Regions from separate parts of the Homo sapiens genome. Here region 1 is linked to region 2. The links are contacts of gene promoters, found by promoter capture Hi-C in human tissues and cell types (Jung and others, 2019). All regions are on one chromosome and are shown on one strand. Each heading gives the region's core, a stretch centred on a gene start or on the middle of the fragment in contact. The rest is flanking DNA. Distances are from core to core; before and after follow the strand shown.

The links. Contacts are between HindIII fragments. The study calls those that stand out against the background at their distance.
Region 1: a contact is called between a fragment that was not itself captured here and the fragment with the promoter of ATOH8 in region 2, in 3 of the 25 tissues and cell types used here (IMR-90 fibroblasts, dorsolateral prefrontal cortex and hippocampus).

The regions. Positions count from the first base shown.
Region 1 is chr2:86,035,526-86,041,866 of GRCh38, forward strand. It overlaps POLR1A (RNA polymerase I subunit A), which reads right to left. Exons shown (of 34, transcript NM_015425.6): 25 at 4,867-5,034; 26 at 3,802-3,937; 27 at 3,175-3,332. Among named protein-coding and RNA genes, the nearest start is that of POLR1A, 67 kb to the right of the region's middle. RefSeq lists enhancers at 394-453, 3,802-3,932 and a silencer at 1,124-1,173. The HindIII fragment of the contact is 4,889 bases long and covers 1,665-6,341 here.
Region 2 is chr2:85,750,051-85,756,232 of GRCh38, forward strand. ATOH8 (atonal bHLH transcription factor 8) reads left to right here and starts at 3,941. Exons shown (of 3, transcript NM_032827.7): 1 at 3,941-4,907. The coding sequence starts at 4,140. RefSeq lists a silencer at 610-830. The HindIII fragment of the contact is 12,393 bases long and covers 1-5,694 here.

The DNA of each region.
Region 1 (6,341 bases), core at 2,859-5,358, 290 kb after region 2:
AGCTGCTGCCACACACAGGGCTGCTTCCCTCAGCTGGGCGCCCCAGCCTGTCTCAACTTGTGGCAATGTCACGGCTCTGATGCTTTTGCCCCCAGCATTTCACATCTGGCCTCAACTCTAACTGCCCATCTGCTCCCTCCACCCTGTGCACCCTTTGGGCCTTTGCTTGAGCGGCTCACTCTGCCAGTAACTTCCCTGGCCAATATCTACCTACTGAAGCTGTACTCATCCTTCAAGGCCAGGCCTCAGCAGCTGTAACTCCTCCAAGAAGCCCTCCCTGATTCCCCCAGTTGGGGATGCCTTCTGCCTTCCCTGCCTCTTTTGGTGACCAGGACTTGTGGAGAACGTAGGAGGGAAGGAGGTGAGAAGGCAGAATGAATGGCTGGTGAGTAAGTGGTAGGCATGTGACCAGTGTGCCAGTTTTCCTGGAGGTGCAATTTGCCCTTCTATGGTTTTGCCAAGAGCAGGGGAACTAACGGCCCACAGTGACTGCCTTCTCAAGGTTGTGCAGCTCACCTGAATGTAGCAACAGAAAGGGAACAGGAGGGGCAGGGGCAGAGAAGCCTCCCGTCCCACGTAAATAATTACAAACAGAGCACATGACCCCTGGCGGTTTCTGAACGCGCCTGGCAACAGCTCCACCACCTGCTGTTTGGAAAGTCAGATTCACAGAAGCTACAATTACAGACTGTCAGCTGGGTCTTTTCATGGCTGGGGACCGGAGGCCAAAACTTACAGCCCCTAACTCCTAGCTCAGTGCTCTTTCCACTTCATCTCCCCTGCCACCTGCCAGACAATTTACACAAACAGCCCATGTGATGGGTGCCAGTGCAGAGATCTGGGGGGCCTTCTACGCTTGTATATCTCTACCTAGGGAACCATCTGTCTCGTGCTGTTTTTCTCCAGGCTCTGTCAAGGGTCTCATGACTCCACAGCTGGGAGAAGGGAGGGTGGGGGCAAAGAGAAAGAAAAAGAGGGTGGCAGAGAGGAAGGAAGGGGGAGGGATGGGAGAAAGGAAGGAGAAAAAGCTTCTTGGGGGTTGGCTGCTCTTTTGAAAGTGCACTCACACTTCCTCCCATTTCCTGTGGGCGGCCAGAGGCCTGAACACAGCTGCTCTGCTGCCTGGGGCCTGACAAAGGGAGTCCAGACCGCACCCAGCTCATCCACTGCCCCATCTTTTAGCTCTGCCTAACCCCTCAGCCCCATTCTGCTGAGTCCTTGAGGCCACCTCCACCAAAAGCTACTGCGCATGGCTTTATTTATCACAGATTTTCAAGTTCACAAGCAAAACACAGGGAGGAGTTGAAAAAGTACTTCACGGCTGGGAACAAGCCAGGGCTGTCCCTCATCAGGAAGAAGTCTTAAAAAGTGATTTCCTATTTTCAATTCCATGAGGTAATATAAGTAAAAAGAACCCCAGCATGGGCTGGCGCCAGCCTCATGCCGACCTACCTGCTGGGCTGGCCTGGGCCTCCTGTGAACAGAACTGGGGCAAAACATCTAACTCCGTCCACCCTTAGTTATTCTCTAGAGGCCATGAAATCTGAATTCCCATTTCCCAGAAAACCACTGCCAGGCCAGCACAAACGCCCCCTGCACTTGGTAGTTATGTTCCTCGCTGTTAATTAAGGAGCTGGCAGGCGGGTGCACACAGCACTCCCCTGCCACTCTGCCCAGTGCCCAGATAGCACAGAGGACCACTCGACAGAAGGAATGTTCTCAGCCCAGGCTGGCACCAACGCAGGTGCTCCTGAGGCCCAGCCAACAACAACTTCACCCAGGGCTCGTGAACTGGGGCAGGAAGCACCTGGCCAGTGACCCCCGTCCAAAGGACTGAGTTCACATCCAAGCTCCTCCACCCCAAGACCCACCATCCCAAATGCCACCTGCACAGAGGGCTGGCTCGAGGCCAGGCCCCATAAGGTGAGAGGGCAGAGGGCTGAGGGCAGAAAAGTCGTACTGTGTTGCCCACGCCTGCCCCCGTGACTCAGCGACGAATGGGCATGGCTCAGTATGTGTTTGTGGGATGGCTGAGTGCAGGGAGCTTTCTGCTTCTGCTCTGTCATTGCTTCTCTATCTGAGCAGCTCCCAGAAGACCAAGAACTGGTCTAGATTAGAGGCAGTGGTCAGTGGCCTGTGGCCAGATCCTGCAACAGATGAGAACCATCTGGGCCTTACTGGGCTTTTAAAAACACATGAATTAGTTGCTGATGTTTAAAAGTCAGGAGACCTCAATTATATAAAAGCAAAGGCAAGTAAACAAGTGACCCAAGAAAGAAAAAAACGTAGGGGGTGGGAAGCTTGTTTTCTTTCTTTTTAAATCAAAAGATGTGGCCCCCCGGGCCTCCATTCCTGCATAGTAACAGGTGCCCCTTGAGACAGGTTCCACACTCTTCAGTCTGCCGGGGGCCTCCAAGCCTGCTTCACTGGCCTGTCACCTGCTGGGCTATGCAGCCTTTTTGTGTTCACACTTCACCGTCTAGGGTTAGCTGGTGAGTCAAAAATGCTTCGTGGGCTCTTCCAGTCTTGCCCCAGTCCCCAAAAAGCCCATCCTCCTGCTCCCCGGAACTCAGCATTGTGGCCTCTGCTTTTCAAATATCTAACAGTAACTTGAACTTGAGACAAAAGTTCCTTTTCCCTACTGGACAGGAACTCGGGACAGGAACTCGAATTTCTCTGGAGGCAATCCTGGTTATAGAATGGAGATCTAACAGCAGCGTGCCACCCGCACATTGTTCATTATTCACAGAATCTAAATGCATCAGGAACCACATTATACTGCCTGCAGTAACACCCTAGCAAACATTAACAGCATGTGCTGCTCCGACACCACAGAAGCACCGCTTTGATGGTGCTCCCTTCTCTTTACCACACCCACATTTCCATGTCTTAATGCCTGCAAGCCCCAGAAGACAACAATCCTGACGTCAACCCAAGAGAAGAAATGGGCTCAGGGAGTGACGTGTGGCTAAGAAAGTCATACCCACAAGCCAGACTGTGGTCAGGTTTCCAGATCAGGCTGCAAGGCCCTCTGCTTCCTAAACACTTCCCTTGAAGGGCTCATTTGGGCAAAGGCACTCAATCTCTAGGAGCCTTGTGGCTAGGTGCTTCCTGCCCCAGTTCAAGCGCATTCTCTGGGTCAAGGTCAATGACAATCACAGCCTGAGCCCTGACCTTGTTTCCATGAAGCGCAGGATGTCCTCGGGTCTCAGGCACTTCTCCTGCTGGTAATATGCATGTGGCAGGAACTGAAACCGCAGCTGGTACACCTGGAATTTGTTCTGTTTTTCTTCCATACAGAAGGACTCCTGGACGTCAATTTTCTGCAACACCTGGAACCAGACGGACAGAGAGAACTTGACTTGTTCAGGTCCTAGGTGACTGCGCAATGTGAGTGGGTTACGAGACCCAAGGGTTTACAGAGATAGCAGCTGAGACCACAGGCCAAACCCCAAAGAAACCCTGGTGAGCTATACTGGTGTGGATCTGCTGGGGGGCCCACAGCCTGCAGTCACCTCCAGAGAGTGGCCTGAACCTCCTAGGAGTGGCCTCAGCAGAGCGGGTAGGCAAACTCAGGAAATGGTTTATTTTTCAGGCACAGGAGGATGCTGTGGAACTAATGACTCTCTTAAAAGCTTCCTGATCCATCTCTGCTCAGCACCTGGCAGAGACAGCTTATCTCTCATTGGTGGGAATCTGAGCCTAGGGTCAGAGCAGTAAGCAAAGCCTGTTCTTCACACATGGGGAGGATATAGGAACATGCCTTCACCCCGTCTGCAACCTGGGAAGGAGAGACGTTACCTCCCCCAAGCACACCCTGGTGAGTTGCTTCTTCAGGCTTTTCACTCTCTTCAGGGCTTTCTTGGTGTTGAGCACGGGCACGCTCATCATGGGTGTCTTGATGTTGGCGCTGGCCACCATGAGAATCTCCCGCAACCTGTCACAGAATAAGGGCACATCCAATCATGAGTGGCAACCAGACCTTCTGTTTGGGTGCAGCTTCTCCTAATGATGTCAGAGTTCTTTTGGAATCTGAGAGAGGCCTGGGGATCTCACAGGGATAATATGCTAGATCAGAGAATCCCAGCTCTGGCCTCGTGTGCAACAGTAAGGGACTCCCCTGTCAGTTTCCTCCCTGGAGGGCCCACTCCTTGTGCTCAGGGCTTTGTCTGATTCTTGTTTCCTATCACCTGTGCCTTGCAAACAACAGGTGCCTGCTGACGCTTACTGAATGAACAAGCGATGCAGGGAAGGCAACTAGCACCCACAGTGCTCCTGCTGAGCTCAGCCAGCCCTCACTGCCTGGATGTATAGTGGGTCCCAGCCTCTGGCCTTCCACAGAAGGACCCCCTGAGGTTTGGAAAGTGAGGTACCTGTCCAGAGTCTTTCTGCTAGAAAAAGGCAGGGCCAGGGACTGAATGCAGATGGGTCTGACCCCACACTCATTCCCCTTGTCCAGCACATATATTTACCTGAAGGGCCAGGGCCCAGGGCCACGTGGGGGCACGTTCTATGTGAATGGCTCCCCTGGAGTTGGGCAACCAGGCACCTTGTGTGGGGCTTGTTAACAATGTACGTTCCTGAGTCCTTCCCCCAGCAGTGTGCAGTCTCACAGGCATCCCCAGGAACGTGGATGCAGGAGTTGGCAGAGGAATAAATGGAGATCCTACCAGGCCTGGGCACCAAAGAAACCAGCTGGGCTCTGGAAATTCTAACCCTGATCCCCACTTTAATGAGACCCTGTCCCTCTCTCACACAGACACACTCTCTCATTCACACACACTCACTCACCCCCTCTCATTAAATGGCCCCTTCTCCAGGAGAGGCTAGGACAGACCCCACCCTGTGCTCCCTTGTGCCCCACACCTTGGAATGCCCAGGGTGACGTTCATCTCGCCTCTGCCTGCAAAGTGGAAGGTGTTGAGGGTCATCTGGGTGGAGGGCTCTCCGATGCTCTGGGCAGCCAGCAGGCCCACAGCCTCGCCCGGCTCACACAGTGAGCGCTGCCACTTCAGCTGCAGCAAGGTCCTCAACCTAGAGACGGTGGTGGGGGGTCAGGGTGGGGGTTGTGGCAGGGGTCAGGAGCAGACACCACAGACTGTCAATGCTGCCCGAAACCAGAAAACTGAAACCTCTACCTCTTTCTGGACTCGTTTTTCCTAGGCAAAAGATCCCTCTAATCTTCAAATTCCCACCAGTGACCCTGAGATGTCCTCAAATTACACAGCACAGATCCCAGCTGGGTGGCTGAAGCTCTAGACATTCATGCTTGGACTCCTCATGTTTGCCCCCAGAATGTCACATATCCACTCTGGGACTGTTACCACAAGCCCCCTAAGCAGGAGAATTTCTGGGTTCATTATTCACTTTTTCCTTTATCCATTCTTTCTTCTCAATTATGACAATTTGGAGACAGTTTAAACCTCCTGCTATAAAAATTAGAAAGAGGTTCACTAGGCCATTATGGGGATGGGGGTGATGAGAGTGTTTATATTTTTAGTTAGTGCAAATGGCTGCAGACCACATCAGAAGTATTCATGCCGCACGATTCTGTAATTTACTAACCATTTTTCCTATGAAGCCTGACCCTGTTAAGAACAGCCACTAGGAGCGCTGAGCTACACTGTGTGTGTGTGTGTGTGTGTGTGTGTGTGTGTGTGTGTGTGCGCGCTGAGCTACAGTGTCTGTGTGTGTGTGTGTGTGTGCTGAGCTACAGTGTCTGTGTGTGTGTGTGTGTGTGTGCTGATCTACAGTGTCTGTGTGTGTGTGTGTGTGTCTGTCCTAGTCCAAGCTGAGGCCTTCAAATGGGAACCCAAAGCTCAAAGGTGTGTGTGTGTGTGCGCGCGCGCGCTGAGCTACAGTGTCTGTGTGTGTGTGTGTGTGTGTGTCTGTCCTAGTCCAAGCTGAGGCCTTCAAATGGGAACCCAAAGCTCAAAGGATTACTGGAGTAATCGGATCCAAGGCCTCATGAGAAGTTAAGACCTGGTGTCCCTGGGCATGAATGACCTGCCCTGGGTCACACGGTTGGCAGCAGGTGAACAGTGACCAGATTCCCTGACTCTCAGTCAGCCCCACCCACCACACCAAACCCAAGAGAGCAGACTTTCCTGCAAGCCTCCCAGCAGACCACTATCCCTATCTTGGCCCAGATGGGGGTGTCCACTCCTGCCTCCCTTGCACTTGTTCACTCCTGGGCCCTTGGGGCTTGTGCGTTGCCCCTGGCTGTCTTACTGCCCTCCCTCTAGCTGAAGTCTCAAACCCAGGAGGCAGCCCTCTTCCGGAGTGAGTAGGGCAGGGGCTAGGAGGCAGGGGCTAGGAGGCAGATTCTCCTGCACATGTTG
Region 2 (6,182 bases), core at 2,691-5,190:
TTAGCCAGGATGGTCTCGATCTCCTGACCTTGTGAACCACCAGCCTCGGCCTCCCAAAGTGTTGGGATTACAGGCGTGAGCCACCGCACCCAGTGACTGTTCTTTCTGTTGGCAAGATTATTTTTTTCCCCACTAAGAGCCTTAGTCTTCTTATCTGTAGAGTGGGTTTACTTCCCTGGGTGATGATAAGGATTAGTGAGATAGAGTTTGTATGCACTCCTTGCATGGCAGTATTAAAGAATTAACGATTGCCTGACTTTCTAATATCTGTTCCCAGTGGCCTGACCCCTAAGCTCTTGCTTTGCCTTCCCTTTTTATCTTTATTCCTTTTCCCTAGACCAGCCATCCAAAGGGGTATGGAATCTTCCAGTGACAACATCCCTCGATCCCAGGGTCACCTCAAATGGTTAATTCAGTGGGCGATGTTTTTAATGAAGGGCATAGGGTGTCGTCTGCATTGTACCATCCAAAGGTGTGAGTAGGGCCAAATGGAGCCTTGGGAGACTTTTTATCCTGGAAAGTCTATGAATTCATGAAATCCACATTACTGTCATTACAGGGCCACCACAATGGGCAAAAGTTCCTCATGGGGAGACCGCAGTGTTGTGTGCAGTCCCAATAGTGTGATACCACCAGGGGGTGCTGCCCAGCTGGTCTCTGCCCCAATTCTCAGCAAGGCTGAGGAAGGCAGAAGTGAGAGCCCTTGGAAGACAGGTTTGACCCCTAGGCTGGTGGGGCGTGGGCAGCCAGCCTGGACCTGGAAGGTCTGCAACCTGGCAGGCTGACAATGGCAATAGCAGGGACTCCACATCAATCGGCCTCTTTACAATTTGTCGCCTGTTCCCACACACACCATTCCATCTCAAGACTCAAGAGATGATGCCCAGATAGTGAACAGAGGCTCAGAGAAGTCAGGGAGCTGCTCAAGGTCACACACCTGGTACGTGACAAGGTGAAGATCCCTCTGGGCTTGCCTGTTGCCAACTCTGGGGCCCTGGCATTTGGCCAGCGGGAGAGGCAGCATGTTGAGGAGAAAGAGCCTGTCTGGAAGCCTGTAGCCCGGCTTGGAGCCCTGCTCTACCTCCACCCTGCATGGCTGATCATTCCTATCCAATCCCTTCGCCTCCTCCTGCCCCATGGGATCTCGGTGACCTTCTCCTCTATTTGGGGGGAAGTTGGCACGGGGCTTAGGATCAGTATGAGTGGATCCTTTGGTATTCAGCCAAGATGTGATTTTCCCAGACACAGCTTGGCCTCTTTAAGGACAAAATTCAGTCCTGCTAGAGACTTCTCACACAACCTCACCAGCCACGGGCACCCCAGTCTTCAGCTACACCCAAGTCTGGGATGCAAGGGGGCCTTAGCAGCTGGCTGACCCAGGATGCCCAAGGTCACCATTCCCTAGACTCTAGGCATCATGCCACATGCTGCACATGCTGCGTCTTTGAGTCCTTGCAGCCGTGTGAGGCACGGTATCATTACTCCCGTTTTACAGAGGAAGCTACTGAAGCTCAGAGAGTACCTGAGCAGCCCTGGAGAAGGAGTGTCACTTTTCCTCCATCTCTGCCACTGACTGGCTGGATGCACAGGAGGACTGGGTCTCCAGACAGGAGTGTAAAGGGCACGAGGGTTGCTTGTCCTTATCAGAGGTTTCCTGAGCACCAGCCTTTAGAGACAGGGAGGAAGGCAAGAGTGCGCCTTTGAGGAACGCACAAGCCCAGGAGTTCCAACAGGGCTGCAGTGGAGGCTAAGTTGCAGCAGGACTTTTGAGCAAGCATGCACACAGGCCAGCAAGAGCAATTGGAGGCTATGGTGAGCAGGGAAGGTTCGCGGGAGGAGGGGGACCGGAGCTGTTCATCGAAGGGTGAGGAAGAGTGTGCGTTGCAAAGGGGAGCCGTGGGAGACCTGGGAGCAAAGGCCAGAACTTTAGGGTTCGAGGCTGAGCAGGGAAACGACAGGAGAATGAGGGCTCCTCTTTGGCAGCACACACCTGGTCTCCAGGACAGAGATAAGGTGCAGGAATATGCAGGTGTCCAGGGAAGACGATGTCTCCGGGAGCACATGCTTTATGATGCTGGCACCCACCTTGGTGGCAAAATGAGATTTTGCATTTACTATATTCAGAAAACTGCATGCCTCAGTGTGTGTGTGTGTGTGTGTCTATGTTTGAAGTCTTATGTCAAAGTCCTTTGACATCCATCTCTTTGTCCTTTCCCAGCTACCCTGAGAAGGTTGGCTGGAAATATCCTCAAAGACAGAAAAGAGTGACGGTGGGAGGAAACGTCTTGCTCGTGGTCATGGGGTTCCGTCGTTGACAAACCAAGGCTCAACCGGGGCTGCTGGCTGGAGCTCCATGCTCCTGCCCCCAAAGCTATGCCCAGATCCCCATCCCACCTCCCAGCACCCTGCGTGCCATCTGCCTCCTCCACCCCTAGGCATTCTCCCATGGAGGAGAGAAGCACTCCACTCTGTGTGAGCCCTTGTGTTTTCATCAGAGTTCAAGGCCAGGGTCAAGGGTCCATCTTCTCCCAAACCACCTTGCTGGCTTTTAGTGTCCACCTTCCTTAAGGAGTAACAGTCACAGAGAAGGGACCAGCAAGGAGTGAAGCCCTGTTCTGAGCCTCGGAAGGGAGCGGCTGGGAAGCAGTCCTCTGGCAAGGACATCTGAGGGCCTACTAGTTTGACCCCTTCTTTCCAGAATCTCCAGTGGAATGGCACTGATGACTGAGGGTCTGGGGGGTCTACCTCTGCCCCTTGCCAATAACCGTGGGCACCTGCAAAGCTCTCACCTGGTGCCAGGCACTGCTCTGAGTGCCTTGCGCATACACGCTTTTCACACCGCCTGGGGAGGAAGGTACGATTATGACCCTCGTTTTACAGGTGAGGAAAGGGAGGCACAGAGAGGTTAAGTGACTTTCCCAAGGTCATTCAGTGAGTGGCAGAGCTGGGGTTTGAGCCCAGGAAATCTGCCTCAAGTAGCTGTTTTGCCTCAATAAATAATACTAACAACAACCACAGCTACCATTTGACGACCCGTTCCTATGTGCCTAGTGCTTTAATTCCTCAGAGCAATGCTGTGACTTAGGCGTTGTTCTCCGAATTTCTCATTTCACAGATGAGTAAATCCCGGTTTAGCAGGGCGCCTGGAGTGAGGTGACTGCGGAGGCTCGCAGACGTTAGGTCTGCCTAAATCCGAAGCTTCCACCCTCCTCTGCCTCTGTGACTTGCTGCGTGACTTTGGAGCTTTCGGAAACTCAGTTTCCCTGTCTTAAGCCCTCTGCTCCTCTTGCTTTCCCGCTCCAGCAAGTGAGAGTGGACTGGGTTGCCGTGCCGGGCGGGTGTGGGTCGCCGGGCAACTCCGGAGTCTCCCCTTCCCCATCGGCCCCCAGCAGAAGTCCCAGCTCCCGGCGTTTTCTGTCTCGTGGCGAGTTGGGGCGGAGGGAGCGGCGGGAAGGTGCCGGGTGGGCAAGGTCGGAGCTGCGTCACCGAGAGGCCGGCAAGGCCAGGGAGAAAAGGCCCCGCTGTGATTTGGGGAAGGGCCGGGGGCCCATAAGTCACGTGCTCGGGGCGGTTGTGCAGGAGCGGACTGTCCTCTGGGAACATAGAAGCGCCCCCGACTAGAGTAGGGGCGGGGAGGGAGCGCCGGAGGAGGCAGGTTCTGGGCCAAGGGGATGGGGGTGGGGGGGAGGTAGGGAGCCCGCGGACAAAGGAGGCGGCCGGCGGCCCAGCTGTTTTGAAAAATGCTTCCTGTTTCTTTAAAGGCGCTCGCGGCTCGGGCGGCCCGGGCTGGGGAGGCGGTGGCGGCGGGAGCTGCCTCCTCTCCGGGCGGCGGCGCTGACTGATCTCGCGAACTGGGCTTCTGTGTAAACTGAGGCTAAACAAACACAGATGGAGCGCAGCGGGCGTTCTCCAGAAATGCTGGCAAGGAGGCAGCGACTTCAGATGACACTCTGAGCGCTCCGGGAACGGACAGCCCGGCGGCTTCCCGAAGCCGGCGGCGCAGCTGCCCGGGGCGAGGGGGAGAAAGGGAGAGAGGGAGGGGGAGGGCGGGCGAAGCGGGAGAGCCAGAGACTCCTCGGCGCTGAGCGCGGCGGCGGCCCGGGCAGCCCCACGCCCCTGCCTCGCGCGCCGCCCGCGCCATGAAGCACATCCCGGTCCTCGAGGACGGGCCGTGGAAGACCGTGTGCGTGAAGGAGCTGAACGGCCTTAAGAAGCTCAAGCGGAAAGGCAAGGAGCCGGCGCGGCGCGCGAACGGCTATAAAACTTTCCGACTGGACTTGGAAGCGCCCGAGCCCCGCGCCGTAGCCACCAACGGGCTGCGGGACAGGACCCATCGGCTGCAGCCGGTCCCGGTACCGGTGCCGGTGCCAGTCCCAGTGGCGCCGGCCGTTCCCCCAAGAGGGGGCACGGACACAGCCGGGGAGCGCGGGGGCTCTCGGGCGCCCGAGGTCTCCGACGCGCGGAAACGCTGCTTCGCCCTAGGCGCAGTGGGGCCAGGACTCCCCACGCCGCCGCCGCCGCCGCCTCCTGCGCCCCAGAGCCAGGCACCTGGGGGCCCAGAGGCACAGCCTTTCCGGGAGCCGGGTCTGCGTCCTCGCATCTTGCTGTGCGCACCGCCCGCGCGCCCCGCGCCGTCAGCACCCCCAGCACCGCCAGCGCCCCCGGAGTCCACTGTGCGCCCTGCGCCCCCGACGCGCCCCGGGGAAAGTTCCTACTCGTCAATTTCACACGTAATTTACAATAACCACCAGGATTCCTCCGCGTCGCCTAGGAAACGACCGGGCGAAGCGACTGCCGCCTCCTCCGAGATCAAAGCCCTGCAGCAGACCCGGAGGCTCCTGGCGAACGCCAGGGAGCGGACGCGGGTGCACACCATCAGCGCAGCCTTCGAGGCGCTCAGGAAGCAGGTACCCGCTCGCCGCCGCACGCCCTCACTGCGCCGGGGGACGACTGCGGGAATGGGTGGGCGAGTGGCCGGGGCGGGATAGAGGTGTGTTTAAGGGGCAAGCTGCCCCGCCCGGTCCGACCCTGGTGCCCAGACAGGTGTGGGCAGTCCTAGGGTATGGATCATAGTTTTCAAAGTGGCTATAAGAGTTGGTTATCTCTGGCCCGAGCACCCCCCGCCCTCAACCCCCGCCTCGGGGGTAACGCTGTCTGCGCTTCTGACTTCAGCCTCCATAGTTCACTTTTATGGCAGCGAGTATTTGCCTGCCGGAGTCCCCTGGGCGCGGTGCGGAGTGGAGAGGGGAAATGTGGGAATCTGTCAGCGGAGGAAGGGGGGAGCCTTCTCCAGTTGGTGGTGGCAAGGTCCGGAACGCTGCGGTGGGACAGTCCGGGGGAGTTGTCAGCCCCTCTTCAGGCCCCAGCGGTGATGCCCCGAACACTCAGGTTGCTTCCGGGCTATGCACTCCTTGCCCTGGCATCCTCAAGAACCCGCGCTACAAGCCTGTGCCCTCTCCCCAGGGGTGGGCTCAGGAATCGGCTGGTGGGAGTCTTTCTAGCAGATCCCTTCCTTTCACCCGTGGTGAAGCAGGCAGCTCTGCCGAGGGGACTGCCTAGGTTGGGGATTCCCTCTGGAGCATCTTCAGAGCCTAGTTCTGGGGTGGGTCCGGGACTTTTTAGTTTGGGGCTGGTGCGGGCTGCCCTCACCAGACAGTGCCCCTGCGCAGGTAGCGGAAGAATACTTAACCCAAGAATTACCCGTGGTGGGGCGGGACAATCGCTTGGGCTTCTAGGCTTCTTATTTTCTTAGCGAGAAGGAGCTCTAGGAAGGAGGTGGTGAGTTCTCTCCCACCCCCACACAGGGCGTGGGGAAGGGTTAGGGTAGATGTGGCTGGTTTGAAGGGTGTTTTTTTTTTCTTTTTATTTGCATACTCTGCAGCTGACTTGCTGTGTGACTCCAGGAATGTTGCTCAACTTCTCTGGGCTTTATCCAGCAACAAAACATTTCAGAAACCATGATCTTCTTTTTGGATCACTCTCCTCTTCCTGCTGGGGGTTGGGGTGGGGTGGGGCAGTAGTGCCTGTGTCCATCCATGGAAAGGAAATTGAATCCTTGGAGGAAAGAGGCCCTATGACTTTTGAGCCAAAGTGTCTTGCTTGGGCTTGGGGAAAGTGGTCAGTGAGGTGGGGTGGGGGTGGGGGTGGGGGACGGGTGGCTGTCACAGACCAGGCTGGGCCTC